Regions from separate parts of the Homo sapiens genome. Here all the other regions are linked to region 2. The links are contacts of gene promoters, found by promoter capture Hi-C in blood cells and fetal thymus (Javierre and others, 2016). All regions are on one chromosome and are shown on one strand. The core of a region is centred on a gene start or on the middle of the fragment in contact, and the rest is flanking DNA. Distances in the headings are between cores, read along the strand shown.

What was found. Contacts are between HindIII fragments. The CHiCAGO score rates a contact against its expected background, and 5 or more counts as called.
Region 1: a contact is called between a fragment that was not itself captured here and the fragment with the promoter of XYLB in region 2, in 2 of 17 cell types (total CD4 T cells and total CD8 T cells). The highest score is 6.8, in total CD4 T cells.
Region 3: a fragment that was not itself captured here is called in contact with the fragment with the promoter of XYLB in region 2 in 2 of 17 cell types (neutrophils and megakaryocytes); the score reaches 7.2 in neutrophils.

The regions. Positions count from the first base shown.
Region 1 is chr3:38,485,463-38,489,499 of GRCh38, forward strand. It overlaps ACVR2B (activin A receptor type 2B), which reads left to right. Exons shown (of 11, transcript NM_001106.4): 11 at 1-4,037. Among named protein-coding and RNA genes, the nearest start is that of EXOG, 8.9 kb to the right of the region's middle. The HindIII fragment of the contact is 4,781 bases long and covers 338-4,037 here.
Region 2 is chr3:38,345,230-38,349,108 of GRCh38, forward strand. It overlaps XYLB (xylulokinase), which reads left to right and starts at 1,556. Exons shown (of 19, transcript NM_005108.4): 1 at 1,556-1,696; 2 at 3,321-3,403. The coding sequence starts at 1,640. RefSeq lists enhancers at 1,333-2,164, 2,165-2,996 and silencers at 1,723-1,962, 1,973-2,032. The HindIII fragment of the contact is 4,748 bases long and covers 1-2,830 here.
Region 3 is chr3:38,101,118-38,104,927 of GRCh38, forward strand. All of the region lies in intron 19 of DLEC1 (DLEC1 cilia and flagella associated protein), which reads left to right. LOC105377033 (a long non-coding RNA gene) reads right to left here. Exons shown (of 2, transcript XR_940727.3): 2 at 2,373-2,676. Among named protein-coding and RNA genes, the nearest start is that of ACAA1, 34 kb to the right of the region's middle. The HindIII fragment of the contact is 1,256 bases long and covers 1,278-2,533 here.

The sequences.
Region 1 (4,037 bases), core at 1,478-3,977, 140 kb after region 2:
TGCACATGCCTGGGCATCTACCTAGTGTGCTATGTTCAGTGTCTGGGGCTTACTGCCCCGGGGTCCTTTCCTCTGGGTGTTGGGGCACAGGGTGCTATGGGAGGCCCATTTGCTTCCCTCTCGGAGCTCAGTTTTTGCTTCATGGGTCAAAATGTGGGCTGGCCAAGTGGTTACAGGAACAGGGTTTCGGTAAGCTATGTTGTCTTTTTTTTTTTTTTTTTTTTTTTTTTTAATGGTTTGATTTTGTGCTGTGGTATTTTTTTTCCCTTAGAATAATTTTTAATGGCAAAACAGGCCTTACAGCAGTTGCTTTTCTTTACCATTTATTTCTTTAAGAAGCTTTAAAATATTTATTGAAAAGTGCCATATCTAATTTCTTTAGCTTTCGCCTCAGGCAGTGCAGGCATCTTTACTTTTCATCCTCAGAAGAAACAAACGACTAACAAATGTAGCAAATTTACTGCAGGAATAGTTAGGTCATGATACTACCTGAACACTAAACCCCAGCCTCTTTGTTTGGTTTTAGTTCCTCTGGGTGGTTTTTCTTTTGTGTGCTGGCTTGATTCTTGTGAGAAGTTTTGACCTGGCCAAGGGAGGGTTGAGCCATGGTTCTGGTGTGGGACTTTGCGGTCAAGACACAGTACAGACAGGTCAGGCCTGCGTGCCTTTTCTCTGGGTGGCCTCCCCGTTAGGCCCACCGTACGCTCAGCCACTATAGTGTCCCTGTGGGGCCTTGCCATCAGATTGTGTGTCAGGAGATGGTACCTTTTTGGTGTGGCTGGGGAGGAGTGTGGTCCATGCCAGTTCTTTGGGCTTCAGGCCACTCTTCCCCTCATGCTGTGGTGTAAAGTGCACCCATCAGGTGGTATATCTGGTTCTGATGGCAAGAAGAAGGTGGGGGATCTCCTTATAGGGCATGGGTCTAGGAGCACAGATGGGCCTTTTGCCCCGGGTAAATGCTTGTCTGTTTGCTGTCATGTGTTCTTTGAGGAGTGAGCCATCTCGAGCCCTGCTTTGAATTTACTGGGTCATAGAGCCTCTGCCTGTGCTCTTTTCCATAATGACTTCATGTGACATGCACTTTTGGTGGGCTCAGATAATTGGTTTCTTTTTGTTTTTGACCTCAGGCTCTGTGGCAGACTGGGGAAAATGGGGCCTGGCATCATTTTCCCTGTCAATGGGAGGGGCTGTTCCATGCAGGGTGGGAGGGGACCAAGTTAGCAGAGAGTAGCCAAGGATCCTTGCTTCTTCCTTTCTAGTGTGCTGTCATCCAAGCAGGCTCCTGGCTGTAGGGATGGGCCTTGGGGAAGAATCTTCTTTGAAAGCATCTATGATAACTGAGAAGTCATCCCTAGTTGGAGAAATCCAGTAATGAGCAGAAGGAGGAAGCAAGTGAGGACAGAGGCCATTGTATTACAGTGTCACGCAGAGGGCCCTCAATGATGGGGCATTGGGGAAGGCTGTAGACATAGTCATCAGAACATCCTGGCCTGGCATAAGCTGGGTTTTCTCCTGGGACCATTGGTCCTCAGCAGGAGTTCTTTGCATGAGTTGCTCAGGGGCAAGGGCTGCAAGTGGGCTGTGCTTAGGAGAAAGTGACACCTGGCAGTGAGGGAAGATGGTGAGCATTATTAGCCTTTGTTGTCCAGCATGGCCTTCTTGTCCTGTCTGCTCTGGAGAGGAGCCTGTGGGACCAGTCCTGCCTGGGGAGGGCATACCCACACGTGCCAGCTGATTCTGACTCTGAATACATCATGTCCGGACTTGGGGGTGTTTCTGCAGAAAAAGGAGGTTGTTTTTCAGCCTTGAACATCTTCAGGAGGATAGAGACTCTTGCTCACATATTCTTAGCAAAGGGAAGGGTCTCTCATCTCCAGGCCACAGAGATAGTTCTTCCATTGCCCTAAGAGGCTAGGCTAACCCTCTTGACATAACTTAGACAGCAAAGCACTTCATCCTGTAGTTGGGCTCTGTCACCTTTCTCTTCAGTTGGCCACATTCTCGTTTCCTCCATCCTGCTATGCTTTGTGTGCTCGGGCTGTGTGTGGGGTTTTTCCCTGGTGGAAGGAAGCCCAGCTGTGTATTGAATGTCCTTCATGTGTTGTGTGTGGCTCAGAAAGCCTGTCACTTGGCCCCTGTGCTCTGAGCCGTGAGGGTGGGGAGGTGGCTGTTCCATTAAAGTGGGAGTATTGGATGGCCCTCTTGAAACTAGAATTTTGCCTTTTTTAGTATGCAGTATAAAGTTTCCAGCATCTATTGGTAACACAAAGATTTGCTGGTTTTTAAAATAATACAGTAAGCATAAGTATGTAAGTTTTTAGAATTGGTACTAGAAGTTGGACAGCTAGTTATTCTCGAGAACTTTATTTCACTAGAAAAATATACTAATTGGAAAGCAGTTTCCAGGAGTTAACTCAGTTTAATTTTCAGTCTCAGTTATTTTAGCCTGTTGAGTTTTTGATGGCACACCTTTGGAGAGATGGCCACGCCTGATTCCCATTTCAGGGGCATCAGACCATACCTTTTTAAGAAGCTCCGTGAATCTAGTCATCTACCCTTCATCCTGGGCGAACAGCCAAAAAGAGAAGGGGACAAGGTGTCTTTTTCTCCTTCTCACTGGGGTGACATGAATTCTTTTAGTTAATGGCTGTTTGCAAATTCTAAACTAATGAAATACTTAGCAGCTAACATGTTCAATCTAGTAATGATGAGTTTAAATCTCAATTGACAGTAATGTTTTAGATAAACAGGCCCAGTAATTCAGTTGATGAACTGTATATCTTCTCAGTCTAGATTTGTAAATGTTTAATGAATTCAGGGTTATAAGCATAGTTCTTTAAGTAAGATTCCAGATAGTTGATTTGCAACCAGCAGTCTACCTATGAATGTATCCCAAACCTTTAGAAGATTGGAAAAGATTTTTGAAATAATGATTTAGTTTTGTAGGAAAAACACCCCCTTGAAAATTAATTCGGTTGACCCAGTAACATTTTTTAAAACAATTGGTGGCTCCAAAAGGCCTGCCAACAAAGAAAAGTCCAAATTATCTAGTGGGACATTTTGAATGTTTTATGTTTATTTTGGGTCCACTGTAAACTTTGGTTCAAAAAAGAATTTGAATTTAAAGAATTTACCATTATTTAAATTATTACCAAGTTTTTACATTTTCATGATGGTATTTTCCAGGTATGAATGAAACATGACTTTTTGATTGTGGTACTTCCTGTATCCCCTGTAGTGCCAAAACCAGTGATACTTTATTTGCTCCTATGGCAGCTCATAGAGGTAACCGAAGTGATTTTTCCTCAGTAATTGAAACACATATTCTCTAAATGCCAATGTGTGGTGATGGGCCCTGCACTGCCTTCATTTCTCTAGGGCAGTGTCTTTGGATTGTCTAGGGCCTAGGTAATTCTGAGAACTACTGTAAACCAACCACAGGGCACTAAAGCAATGTACACACCACTCTTTGTGTGTATGGAAGGGGTTATATAAACCTGGGCTATGCTGGACATCTACAGAAGAGTATTACATTCACTTGCAAAGTTTACATTTTTGAGCTCACAGTTATGAAAAATATGACCCACAAGTTTTTCAGGCAGGTGAGGATGGGTCTTCTTGCAAATGCATGAGTTCTGTCTTGAGTCCTGGGAACTTCTCTGTTGGTTGAGTGTGGGCTCATTCCCTGACTCTCCTAATCATGTTTGCGTCAGAATGTTAGCATTGTAAATAAAAGAATAGGTTGTATAATAGATACACAACACTTGAAACTTTACTTTAAAAAAATCGATAGTTCTACATATATATTTAGTTATATCACTTGACAGATTTCTTCTACACAGTGTGGAGATTGTTTTATACCACAGATTATTTTTATAAAGTTAGTGAATTTGAATGATTTTGTAATCAGAGCTAATGAGCTTTACCTTTCAAGAGAAACGTACACTGGAGCATGAGTGGTGTGGAACTTTTACTTAGTGTTTATATGGATTCTTGTGATACACTGGCAGACTGGAGTCAATTTGCGGGTCTTTTTT
Region 2 (3,879 bases), core at 306-2,805:
TGGCTCACGCTTGTAATCCCAGCACTTTGAGAGGATGAGGCAGGCGGAACACCTGAGGTCGGGAGTTCAAGACCAGCCTAACAAACATGGAGAAACCTCGTCTCTACTAAAAATACAAAATTAGCTGGGCGTGGTGGCGGATGCCTGTAATCTCAGCTACTCGGGAGGCTGAGGCAGGAGAATCACTTGAACCCAGAAGGCAGAGGTTTCAATGAGCTGAAATCACGCCATTGCACTCCAGCCTGGGCAACAAGAGTGAAACTCCGTTTCAAAAAAAAAAAAAAATTAGCTGGGTGCGGTGGTGTGCGCCTGTAATCCCAGCTACATGGGAGGCTGAGGCAGAAGAATCAGTTGAACCAGGGAGGTGGAGGTTGCAGTGACCGGAGATCACGCCACTGCACTCCAGCCTGGGTGACAGGAGTGAAACTCTGTCAAAAAAAAAAAAAAAAGTCATCAAGCAGTTAAGATTAGATTAAAATGCAGTAATCTAATCTTAATTAGATTAGATACTTAGATACCTTTATTTAAAATTTTTTAAAAGTGGAGATAATAGTACCTACTTCCCAGCATCATTGTGACGATTAAATGTGCTCAGCAGGTTGCATAATTGTTTCTGATCTAGCTAGTATCCAGTATTTGTCTATTGTCACAGGTGGTGACTGCTGGAGGGGCTGAGTCCCCAATAAGCTGTGAATGTCTTGGAGGACAAGTATGTTGGCCCCTTCTTGTTCTAGCAGTGAAGAGGATCCCATGTAGACTCCAAGCAGCTCAAGTTCAGCAAGGGAGACAGACCATTGCAAGTGCATGAAAAGGGCACTGGTGGGCTGGGAAGTTCGTAGGAGGAGCCTCTCACATGCTGGGTTTGGGGAGGAATTCTGGAAAGCAGTTAGTCTTAGGGACGGGAAGGATGTAGCTGGTGGGACAGGCGCCCTCAGCTCCATGAATAAAAGGAGTGGGTCTGACTCTGGTTCTCATTCCCCTTTACCATGCCTGGCACACATTAGACCATCAATACCAATTGACTCCAGGAAGGAGTGTCTCCCCGTGGGGGCATCAGGAGCCGCTGAGTTTAAATACACAGGTGGGATGTGACACACTGGGAACCATTCAGATTTGCTGGATCTGGATAGGGCTTGTCAGGACTCAGTGCTTCCAACCCCAGGGCCCATTTCCCTGTGGCCCCTGAGTCACCACCATGGGTGGACAGCTGCTCCAGTGCCAAGATACAGCCACAGAGGACGGCAGGCCCAGGGCCTCCAGAAGGACAGGCAGGCTCCCTCTGAAAGACAAGCCGGCTTATAGCTGAAACCTCTGGCCCAGGCGTCCTCTAAGGGAAGCCAGGCGGTGTCAGGGCACGGCCCATGAAGACATAAGATGAAGATGGGGAGAACCAGAGGGGGTGCGCTTCGAAGGAAAGCGGGCTGCGTGGGGGCACCGTCGATTGCACAGGACGCGGTCCCGGCTCGCGTAGCCCCGCAGGCGGCGCCAGAGCGCAAGCCCGCCTCGTGACTCCGGTCCACAGTCCGGCCGGGCGGAGCTAGGGGCGGGCCCCTGCGTCTCTGGGCGCTGGAGCGCGGCGACTATCACGCCGCGTGGCGGACGGACGGACTGACGGACGCGCAGCCTTACCCGAAAGGCCATGGCGGAGCACGCCCCTCGCCGCTGCTGCCTGGGCTGGGACTTCAGCACGCAGCAGGTACAGTCGCCTGGCCGCAGGGCCACGGGGCCGCCTCCTCCGCTTCGGTGGGGGTAGGGGGCGGGCTGTCACCCGGACGCGGGAAAACATGGGCCCGGCCGCGGGCGCGCCTACCTCTCGGGCTTCCCGGGGCCCCCGCGCCCCTGCCCTGCGCGCGGCCGTGGGGCGCCGGTGCCCTCGCCCGGAGATGCCCTGCCAATGCCACCCGCTCGCAAGATGCGGCCTCGACCCCGCCTGGACCCAGCTACCCCAGGAAACTGCAGGCGCTCCTCGGCAGGACCCCCGGTGCCCAGAGGGGCCGGAGGACTCGGCGGGTTCCTGCGCTGTTCTGGGCACCCAGTGACGGGGATCCGAAGGAAGTCAGCTACTGTAAGGCAGGGGAACAGACAGGCGGGTAGCCCTGCGCACATGCACAACCAGTGACCTGGAAGCAGATTATAGCCCAAAACCTTTTTTTAAAAATTGAAATGGCCCAGGCCTGGTGGCTCTTGCCGGTAATCCCAGCACTTTGGGAGGCCGAGGCGAGTGGATCGCTTGAGCCCAGGAGTTCGAGACCAGCCTGGGCAATATGGAGAAACCCCGGTCTCTACCAGAAAATACAAAAATTAGCCGGGCATGGTGGAGCACACCTGTAGTCCCAGTTTTTCTGGAGGCTGAAGCGGATCGCTTGAGCCCAGGAGGTGGAGATTGCAGTGAGCTAAGATGGCGTCACCGGTCTCCAGCCTGGGCGACAGAACGGGACCCTGTCTCAAAAAAAAAAAAAGAAAAAAGTGAAATGCATAGTGTACAAGTGGACTTTACCCTGTGACCGCCCTTCGTTGACACCAGCTTGCCTGGTCTGTGCACCCAGGACTGCTGGCCAGAGGAGCAGTGTGCTGCTGCCAACGCCCTGCAGACAGGCAAGCAAATCAAAATTTGCCTTCAAAGAGGGCATGGGGTGACCGGGGGCACCTTTTCCTTTAAAGTACTTGGGAAATATACACAGTTGCAGTCAAACCCCTCTTCTCGAATGGGTCAAGGGAGGCAGGCCTCTGGCCAGTCCTTGGGGGAACGTCCTGTGGGACTCTGGATGACTCGAGTTGCCTTGCTGGACCTCAGTTTTCCCATCTGTCCAGGAAAGGAGTTATACTCCCAAGCTTGGAGATTGCTTCAGTGGGACATTAATGTCTCTGGACCACAATCATGGCCTGTGAGAATAGCCCATGGCCTTGCCTGGTCTCAGGCCTCTGCAGACATGGATCCCCAGAGATGCCTCCAAACCTTGCTTCCCATTCCTTCCTCTCTGGCACTTTCTCCCGCCTCCTTGTCAGGTGCACGAACCAACTCATCTGTGAACATCTTCCTCTAGAGGGTCTTGGCTTTGGCTATTTGGGGAACAAAGATTCCTTGAGACATGTGGGTGTTCCTACTTAGCCTCAGTTTCTTCATTTTACTAAATCTTTGAGTGTTACCCCAGATGAGTCCTCTGTTACCACGATTACGGTGAGGCAGCCCTGCCTTCAAGGAGGTCTCTAGGTTGAACTGCTCCTAGGGTGTGGGGCCTCATCTGGTGACGTTAGTACCCCCTGGACCAGTGTAGAAGCTGAGGAAAATTCTACACTTCCTTTTTTAAAATGCCTTTCAGGTAAAGGTTGTTGCTGTTGATGCAGAGTTGAATGTCTTCTATGAGGAAAGTGTGCATTTTGACAGAGATCTTCCAGAATTTGGGTATGTACTTGATGTGCATGTGTGTGTGATGGGGGTGTTGGTTTTGGGGTCCTCCCGCAAACTTTTGTATTCGCAGACCGCACTGTTGAGGCTTTGCCAAATACAGGAGTGGTGGTCTCGGCAGACCTTTCAAGCATCTTTTTTTCCTATACCTAGAGTGCCATCTCCCCCATTTCTTCCTAATTCCATTCATCCATTCATGAAGTAAGCATCAGTTGAGACCTACTTTGTGCCAGGTGCTAGGACCTGATGGCGAAACAAAAAGAGAAAGCTCTCCCAGAGCTTCCCACTGAGTAGTGGAGACTGGTATCAAACAAAGAATCTCACAAAAGAGTGTTTCATTATAAACTCTGAGAAGGCCTCTGAAGGAAAGGAACTCACTTCTCCAAGTGCTTATTATAAAGGAATGTGACTCAGACTTGGGAGGGGAAGTCCCAGAGCGTCTCTAGGGAAGTGGTGCTTAAGCTAGAGATCAG
Region 3 (3,810 bases), core at 656-3,155, 240 kb before region 2:
CCTATCTCCTTCTCCCCACTCCTTCCCAAATTATTTTCAAATAAAATATTCATTTTCCTGCTGGGCATGGTGGCTCACGCCTGTAATCCCAGCACTTTGGGAGGCCGAGGCAGGCAAATCACGAGGTCAGGAGTTCGAGATCAGCCTGGCAACATGGTGAAACCCCGTCTTTACTAAAAATACAAAAATTAGCCAGGTATGGTGGTGCTCGCCTGTAGTCCCAGCTACTTAGGAGGCTGAGGCAGAAGAATCACTTGAATCCTGGAGGCAGAGGTTGCAGTGAATGAATATATATATATATTCATTTTCTTAAGCTGGCTGGTGATAATATTTTGTTTCTAAAGTTGTGTGGAGGTAGTACATAGATGTTGTTTTATTATTCGTTAAACTATATATATGTTTAAACTGTATATATGTTTTATACTCATTTTTGCATATATTTGGTGTTTCATTGTAAAAACATTTAAATGCTCATTTAAATCTCTGTGGATGCTCTTGAATTATCCTCCAAAAAGACTGTGTCATTTTATACTTCTGCCTACAGTGTGTGAGACTAGCCATTACCCCACACTTTCACCATGACAAATGTTGTTGGACTTTGTATACTTGACCATCTGACAGTTGTTCAAATGTCCCCTCCTGTGATAACAAATACAGGTCTAGGTATGAGTCTTTGCATTGGTCCTTCAGGGCAATTTGCGGGCATTAGATGTGAAGGCTAAGTCTGCCTGCAGCTCAGGGGAAGGGCTTTCTATTAAGTCTGTGCTTATTTCCTTTCCTTTTCTGTCTCTGTTCTTTCTCCTGAAAGGACCTTGTATTATCAGAATGTTTACAGTAGCAGGTGATGGAAACACAGACATTACCAACTTAGGCAAAAAAGAGGAAGCATTGGCTCACGTAACTGGGCATTCCCACCTTGCTGAATCCAAGGGCCCAACACTTTTCCCTTTGTCTGGTCTTCTGCTTCCTCTCTTTCTCTACCCTCTTTCCCCCTTCTCTACCTCCATCCCAGCCCCAACCCATCTACTGCTCTTTTTTTGTGGGCCCTTCTCTCCCCTATTGACAAGGGCCCTTCGCACTCTGCCTTGGGGAGAGGCCACTTAGAGCTCCAGGCTCACACACTCCCACCTTAACAATCTCTGAGAGCCAATCTGGCTCTTTGCAGAGATAGGCCCTGATTGCTCTTGCTCTTGTGTGGGTCATGTACCCGCCCCTTCCCCTGCTGGGTGACAGGGAGGATCTGTCTCCAGAAGAGGCAATCATGTTTCGAAATTTCAAGCTTTGTTGTTCTTGCGTCTTTCCTTTTCTATAGTAATCTGTTATAGTCTTATCAATGCAACAGCCTCTCAGATTCCCCCAAGAAAATGAATTTCTGTTTTCCCAGATGTTGGAGTTCTTCTTTACTTTTTGAGTTTTCTTCTGCTTCTAGTAATCTTTGCCTGTCCAGTCCTGTTTTTGAATGGAGGAGGAAGTTGATTTGCATAAGGAGCTGGTGTTGTAAGTTTCTTCTGAGTAAAAGGGGGTAGATGTGGAGAGCACCCCTATTCTAAGGGATGAAGTACATGTGAGTCACCACCCTCAGAGCACACAGCTAGCCTGAATCCATCAGAGAAAGGGACCTTTGGGGAAAACAGCCCTAAACAAACAGTGGAGAAAACCCATACTGGGCAGCTACACAAATCAATTCGTGCCTTCATTCATAAATAAGAATGAAGGAATAGCATCTTTCTGGTTGTTTCCTCCTCATGACAGTTGAGAGGTCCAGTGTTACTGCAGGCTCTGCCCTGGCCTCTCTCCAGCGTGATACCCACAGTCTTCAGTGGGGGCAAATACTGTGGCAGCCCAGTCTTTTTCTTAATTTTCAATTTTAATTTTTATTATTTGTACAAATTTATGGGGTACATGTGCAATTGTGTTATGTGCGTAGATTATATAGTGGTCAAGTCAGGGCTTTAGGGTATCCATCACCCAAATAGCATACATTGTACTCATGAACTAATTTCTCATCACCCATTTCCCTCCTATGCCCTCACCCTTCCGAGTCTCCGTTGTCTATCATTCCAATCTCTATGTCCATATGTACACGTTTTTAGCACCCACTTGAGTGAGATCATGTGATATTTGACTTCTGTGCCTGGGGCAGCCCACTCTTCCATGTGTTGCTCTGAGCTCTGGGGCTGGAGCCCTGACCTGGCTAAGCCAATGGATCTTCAGCAGTGCTTTGCTCAGCTCCCCCGCCCTTTGATGCCCTCATTCCATCATTAAGGATTGCATTGCACGTAACCTGTGCAGGGATTTCAAGCAGCAGTTTTGTTCTCCTCTGTTTTATCAGTTAACCTGATCACATTATTTCTTTCTCCTATTTTCTTTTCCTTGTTTGCATAACATTTTATTTGCTTTATTATCTTTTACTTCAAAATTTTCACAAATAGGGCATTTGCTAGATATTACATTTCTTTGCATTCACAATTTGTCTGTTTGGCACAAAGCTAGCTTTCTGCCTGTGTCAGCTTTGAATGTGCCTTCCTCACTAAGCTTAATCATTTTTTAGCTTAATCATTTTGATTTAAAGTGAGATACGTACGACTCTTCTTTTCACTTGAAGACTTAGAGGCTATTGTAGGGTTATCAGTTGGTCTAATTTCAATATTGTTGTGTCTCAAGGAATAGGGAGGCCTGAGGAGAGGGAGAGAGACGGAAATGACCAGTAAGTAGAGCAGTCAAAATGCACACAGCATTTACCAGTTGAGCCCATTATCGTATATGATTGCTGTTTATGGCACCCCAAAACAATTACAGTAGTAACATCAAAGATCACTAATCACAGGTTACCATAACAGCTATAGCAAAAAAGTTTGCAAGACATGACACAGAGACATGAAATGAGGACATGCAATTGGAAAAATGACATTGATAGGCTTGCTCAATGCAGCGTTGTCACAAACCTTCGATTTGTAAAAATCACAGTATCTGTGAAGTACAATAAAGCAGAGCATAATAACATGAGGTATGTTTGTAACTGAATTTCTTATATAGGTCAATTTAGACTTTTTTCTTGGCCAGGCACAGTGGCTCATGACTGTAATCCCAGCACTTTGGGAGGCTGAGGTGGACGGATCACCTAAGGTCAGGAGTACGAGACCAGGCTAGCCAACATGGTGAAACCCCATTTCTACTAAAAATACAAAAATTAGCCGGGTGTGGTGGTGCACACCTGTAATCCCAGCTACTCGGGAGGCTGAGGCATGAGAATAGCTTGAACGTGGGAGGCAGAGGCTGCAGTGAGCCGAGATTGTGCCACTGCACTCCAGCCTGGGCAACAGAGCAAGACTCTGTATGCCCCACCCCATCCCCCCAAAAAAAGATTTTTTTTTTTTTCTCAGTTTTGGTAGTTTGCATCACTCTAGGAATTTAGGAATTTGTCCATTTTATCTGTGATGTAATTTGTTGGTACATAGTTGTTAGTGGTATTCTCTGATAATTATTTTTATTTCTGTATGATCAGTAGTGATGTCCCCACTTTCATTCCTGATTTCTCTAATTTGAATCTTCAGCAAATTTTTCTTGGTCAGTCTAGTCTAGCTAAAGGTTTATCAATGTTGGTGATATTTTCAAAGAACCAGCTTTTGCTTTTGTTGATTTTCTGTAATGTTTTTCTATTTTCTATTTCATTTATCTCTGCTTTCTAGTCTTTATTATTTCTGTCCTTCCACTTGCTTTGGGTTTAGTTTGCTCTTCTCTTTCTAGTTTCTTAAGGTAAAAGCTGAGGTTTTTGATTTGCAATCTTTCTTTTTTGTTTGTTTAAAGAAA